2 separate regions of the Homo sapiens genome follow, and region 1 is linked to region 2. The links are contacts of gene promoters, found by promoter capture Hi-C in human tissues and cell types (Jung and others, 2019). All regions are on one chromosome and are shown on one strand. Each heading gives the region's core, a stretch centred on a gene start or on the middle of the fragment in contact. The rest is flanking DNA. Distances are from core to core; before and after follow the strand shown. Region 1 overlaps KIF20B (kinesin family member 20B). Region 2 holds the start of HECTD2 (HECT domain E3 ubiquitin protein ligase 2).

Evidence for each region. The method cuts DNA at HindIII sites, captures the fragments that hold promoters and counts their contacts. A contact is called where the count stands out against the background at its distance.
Region 1: a contact is called between a fragment that was not itself captured here and the fragment with the promoter of HECTD2 in region 2, in 1 of the 25 tissues and cell types used here (bladder).

Annotation. Positions count from the first base shown.
Region 1 is chr10:89,742,116-89,744,815 of GRCh38, forward strand. It overlaps KIF20B (kinesin family member 20B), which reads left to right. Exons shown (of 33, transcript NM_001284259.2): 22 at 1,693-1,812. Among named protein-coding and RNA genes, the nearest start is that of KIF20B, 42 kb to the left of the region's middle. The HindIII fragment of the contact is 3,872 bases long and covers 1-2,700 here.
Region 2 is chr10:91,408,968-91,411,706 of GRCh38, forward strand. HECTD2 (HECT domain E3 ubiquitin protein ligase 2) reads left to right here and starts at 1,377. Exons shown (of 21, transcript NM_182765.6): 1 at 1,377-1,609. The coding sequence starts at 1,472. All of the region lies in intron 3 of HECTD2-AS1 (HECTD2 antisense RNA 1), which reads right to left. RefSeq lists an enhancer at 784-993 and a silencer at 1,144-1,733. The HindIII fragment of the contact is 7,826 bases long and covers 1-2,739 here.

The DNA of each region.
Region 1 (2,700 bases), core at 124-2,623, 1.7 Mb before region 2:
TGAAATTGCGAAGAAGAAAAAAGAAATTTATGTTAGTTTTGCTGGTGCACCTCACTGCAAAAGTTATGGCCACAATTCATGATAATTGCTTAGCTAAGATGGAAAAAGCATTAAATTTGTGGGTGGAGGATGCAAACAGAAGTGTGTTTCGATTGATGGTGTCTGGGTTCAATACTGTCCACTGGGGATCTTGAAATACTATCCAATGTTTCAGGTATCCACTGGCGATCTTGAAACATATCCCCTGTGGATAAGGGGGAACTTGTCCTTGTCTAAGTTCACTTGTCTTAGTCTTAATAAGACTTGTCTAAGTTCACTCAGTAGTAAGTGCTAGAGCCAGAATGGAAACCGAGGCAGTCCTTACATGCATCTTTGTGCAGCACATAGCCTCTATTATTGTTAGTTATATAGTTGATGAAGATGGTGTTTATTACTTGAAGCCTCATTTTTTTAAACAAAATTAGCAAATATTATGAATATGTGATTATCATGTATGTATTATTGGAACATAAAGCTTAAAACAATGTAAGAATCCTCTGAAACCATACCACTCTGAGCTACTATAATAAGGGCATCTTCAAGCCTTTTTTTTTTTTTTTTTTTGGGCGGAGTCTCACTCTGTTGCCCAGGCTGGAGTGCAGTGGCGTGATCTCGGCTCACTGCAACCTCCACCTCCCGGGTTCAAGCAATTCTTCTGCCTCAGTCTCCCGAGTAGCTGGGACTACAGGCACGTGCCACCATGCCCGGCTAATGTTTTTTGTATTTTTAGTAGAGATGGGGTTTCACTGTGTTAGCCAGGATGGTCTCGATCTCCTGACCTCGTGATCCACTTGCCTCCGCCTCCCAGAGTGCTGGTATTACAGGCATGAGCCACCATGCCCGGCCTTCTCTATGCTTTTTATGGGGCATCTTTTCATTTAATTTCCTTCCGTTTTTGAGCTCTCTAGCGAGTGTGAAAATGGAGTTTTGGCAGTAAAGCTCCACAAGGGAATAGAAGAGAAGGCTCTGCTGCCAGTTAGATAACTTCCCTCTGGAAATCCTGGCAAGATGTACTGAAAGGTTTCAGAGGGGGTTGGTATGATGGAAACTAGTATAAGGATGTACCTATATTAGCTTTTTTGGGTGAGAAATTAATATATATATTAGTCCATAGTACCTCGATTTCCCTACGTTTATGGCATTAGATTACCGGCAACAGCAGAAATCAATTGACCTTCACTTGCGTGGGTACCTTTTGATTTTGTGATTGTTCCATTTTCTTCCCTGCATGTCATTATTAGCTTTTAAAGTTTTTCTTGTATTCCTGGATTATATTACTCAATAAACTTTGGAAATTTGAATCAGTATTTTTCTCTCAGAATATCTTTATTGATTTTTCCTTGGTAATTATTTCCCTATTATGTATAGATGTTATGATAATTCTTTTTTGAGAGAACTTAAAAAGTTTGAGATTCTTAAATAATGGAACAAGAAATTGAGTTTTTCATATGCATTCTTCATTAGAGTATTAAAACATTTTCTAATAATTTGAAGCTATAGTGTGTTTGATTTGTAGTATATTAAAATCTGTCATTTTTCTTTTAGGCTGTAAAGGATGTGAATCTTTGAACATAGTTGCCATGAATCTTAAATAACAAAAAGCAGTTAGTATTTTTAAAATATTCCATTTGTTTTATAAACATTATTTTGTAGGTATCTGTAATGCGTGATGAGGATAAATTACTGAGGATTAAAATTAATGAACTGGAGAAAAAGAAAAACCAGTGTTCTCAGGAATTAGATATGAAACAGCGAACCATTCAGCAACTCAAGGTAAACAGTTTTGTTTTTAAAGATGATTTAAATGCATTCTCTTGGTATATTTTAGTGTACAAAAAGGTACAAATTTGTTTTTAATAACATCCTGTTTTGACTTTTTCTAGAATCTAGAAATAAATTATTTAAAATTAAATAGGCAAAAAAGAAAAAAAAAAGATAAAATTAAGTAGGCCAGTAGTGACTCTCTTCTAATGAATAGACTATGGAAAAGAAAAAATAATAACTTCATAGTGAAGAAACCTAGCAGATACCACTTTAACCAAGTGTTTAAGAATAACATTACCATTAGTCATATTGATGCTGTGTGCTTCCTGGTTTGATGTGACCAGAAAGGCACATACCCTCTTTGGTATTCTTTCCCTAAATTTATAACCTCAGACTCTTCACGAAAAAACATTAGACAAACCCAAATGGAGGATGTTATACTTACTGCTTCACCAGTATGAAGTATAAAGTGTCAGGGTCATTAAAGACAAGTAAAGACTGGTGAATGATGGTGAAGTCTGGAGTGTAATTAATAGTAGTATACCAATGTTAATTTCTTGATTTTTGATAAATGTACCATGGTAGTGTAATATGATAACATTAAGGGAAGCTAAATTCTTTGGAACTCTTGCAAAGCTAAAATTATTTTGAAATAAAATGCAAAAAAACAAAAAGAGTTGAGGTCTTACAGCAAATTCCTTTTAAAAATGATATTTAAAAGGCAAAATCCCTTTATTGTATATGGTTATTTTTTGCTTGATATCAACCAAATGGATGAGGCAACAATAAAAAAAATACATTTGTTATATTATTTTCATGTTTGCTTTTAAATGAAGCAAACTAATGAATAGTCAGGTATAAATACATGATTTTAATTCTTAAGGTAATCATAATAAA
Region 2 (2,739 bases), core at 127-2,626:
ACCATAACTAGTATTTAGTTATACTAATAACTCCAAATTATGTAAACAATAGATACCCCGAAATCATATTTGGGTTTGTTTCAGAGATATTTTTGGTTCTTATATTTGGACTTAGGTACTCTTGATCTAAAAATTCACTCAACCTCCAATAAAATAATGAAGGCACAGATAAAAAATCTGATAGAGCTGAATATCGAAATTCCTTGCTTTTAACAGGCGATACAGCGCATTCTTACTCTCTTTTCTCCTAGATCAGCAGGTGTCCCCGCCGCTCCAGTAGACTGAGAAAAAGGAAAAGGAGGGGGCGACAAGAAAGGAAAGGAAATTGTCTAGGTGTCCTGGTGGTGGAGGTGGGGGGTATTTTAATTTCATAATTAAAAGCTCTCTTCTTCGGCTTTCAAGTTTTTACTCCTATTTGTAATGATTTGATTGAGGACTGTGCAGCAGAGTTTGGGTATGTACATCTCTAACATAAACGGAAAGGAACAAGGAAGGGACGGATAGGAGACAGCAAAGGGTTGCGGGGAGAGAGCAAAACGTAGGCGCGTGGGGACGGGAAGGGAGAGGCGGATTTGGCAGTCAAAGAGGGACGAGAGGAACAGGAATGGAAAGTGTGGACTGGCCGTCCAATCCTATGGGGGAAGGGGAAAGGGGGGGCCCACCACGTCGCACTCCTCCCCACCTCCAGGCTTTTCCTGTGTAGGCTGAAGCCATCCAGGCGTGTACAAAAGAGTCGGTTGCTGAGCCAGGAAGGCTGTCTCCCCGGGCTGCGCAAGCTCCGGGCCGCCTCTCCTGGGCTCAGGAGGGCGGGCAAGGATAAGAAGGCAGAAGCCCCAAGGCGGACAGCTTTGTGGGCGCCTGGAAGAAGGCGAAAGGCCACCAGCCCAGACCCCGAGGGCGCTTGCCCGCGGGACTCGGCGCCGCAGGCCAGGGCCGTCCGTGAAGGGTAGTCTGTGCCTACGTCCTGCCCTACTGGTACCACTCGGACACTCTATCCCCGTCCGACCCTTTGCAGGGCTCGACTTGTCTCCCCGACTGCCCGTCCTTAGTCCAGGTTCTCCTGCGCGGCCCGGGTGCGGGGTCTCCTCGTCATCTCGGGCGACACTCTGCAAACAATATGGCGGTCGGGCGTCGACCGTGGCGCCTTCTCTCCGGGCCCTCGGGGTTGACGAGGGGGACTACCGCCGGCGCTCCCGACCCGCGACGCGCGAGCCCCGGGCGGGCGGGGGAGGCGAGAGCAAGAAACCTGTGGGACCTGTGGGGAGCCGCGTCCGCGGGGCTGGCGCGCGCGGGGGCGGCCTCGGGCTCGCGCGCAAAGGCGCGGGCGCGGGCGGGGGCGGAGTGGCGGCGGCAGCGGCGGCTAGAAGCGGCAGCCCAGAGCCCTCTCGCGGCCGCGGCGGCAGCAGCAGCGCCAGCCCCAGCAACACTGAGGCCGCCGCCGCCGCCTGGCGCTCCCGCCGCCCGGCCCGACATGAGTGAGGCGGTTCGGGTACCCTCGCCCGCCACTCCGCTGGTGGTGGCGGCGCCCGCGCCTGAGGAGAGGAAAGGGAAGGAGTCAGAGCGCGAGAAGCTGCCGCCCATCGTATCGGCGGGCGCCGGCGCGACCGCGGTAGGTGGTGGGCCGGGGCCGTCTGGCGCCCCGGACGGCGGGAGTTGGGAGGGACGGCGGCCGGGCGAGGGCCGTCAGGAGGCCTGCGTTTACCCTGGGCACGCCCTGGCACTCCAGGGAGACGCACTCAGGCCGCCCTTCCTTGGGCAGAAATAAAAGAGTTGTGCCTCGTGGACAGCCCCGAACACTTCGCGAGGTACACCTACCACCCTCGGGAAATGTTGGGGGTGGTCGGTTCCGCTGGATGTTTGGGTTATTTTCTGGGGCTTGGGCCCCCACTTTCTCTAAGAGAATGACCTGCATCTTGAGTCGGCATGATCTGTTGGATGAGCATAGGTGTCAGCAGGCGGGAGTGGGTTTTCCACGGAGGTGCCTGCCTGCCTGCCTGCCTTGGAGGCGCGCAGATTTTTGTCCTTTTCTTCGCTTTTCTTTCCCTTCCCCCTTCAGATTAAACAGGCTCTGCGGCGAGTTTCCACTTAATTGTGACCTTTCCGTTGCTGTCAGTGTAGTGGGAGGTAGATGCATCAGTGATGGTTTTATTTTTCATATGGTACAGACATGTGACTCAGGTGGGGGGAGGCTTTTTGAACCTTTTATTTAAACCCAAGTTATCTAAGCTTGACAGGGATGATTTCCCAGCTGTATCTTCGTAAGGGTTATTTGGAGAGCGCTGTCAGGCTTCAAACTACATATTGCCAGATGATGTCATGGGACAGCCCCCTCCCCCTCTTTCCCTATTTTTACTGGTGGTTGTGACTGGTTAATTTGAAGCACAATTTAAAAAAAAACCTCGGATTTTGCAATTTTTTATTTTGACATAATATTTAAGTACTTTTTGAAAGTTTGCTTTGATATATTTAAAGATCATGACTTGTCATGCAGCTGTGTGTGACAAAATAGTAAAAGTTTAGTGAACATTATACATTTTCTTTATTCCTACTTGCGGTTCATTTCTTAAAACCTCCCTCTTAAATGACTAAGAACTTACTAAAATAGCTCACTCTTCGTTAAGTACTGTATTGGTGTTAGGAATAATTTTCGGATTCGGTAGGTTTTTCAAAAATGTCTGAGGGCCCTGATAACTGGAAATTGTTAAAACAAGCTCTTTAAATCAATGCAGCAAATTGCGA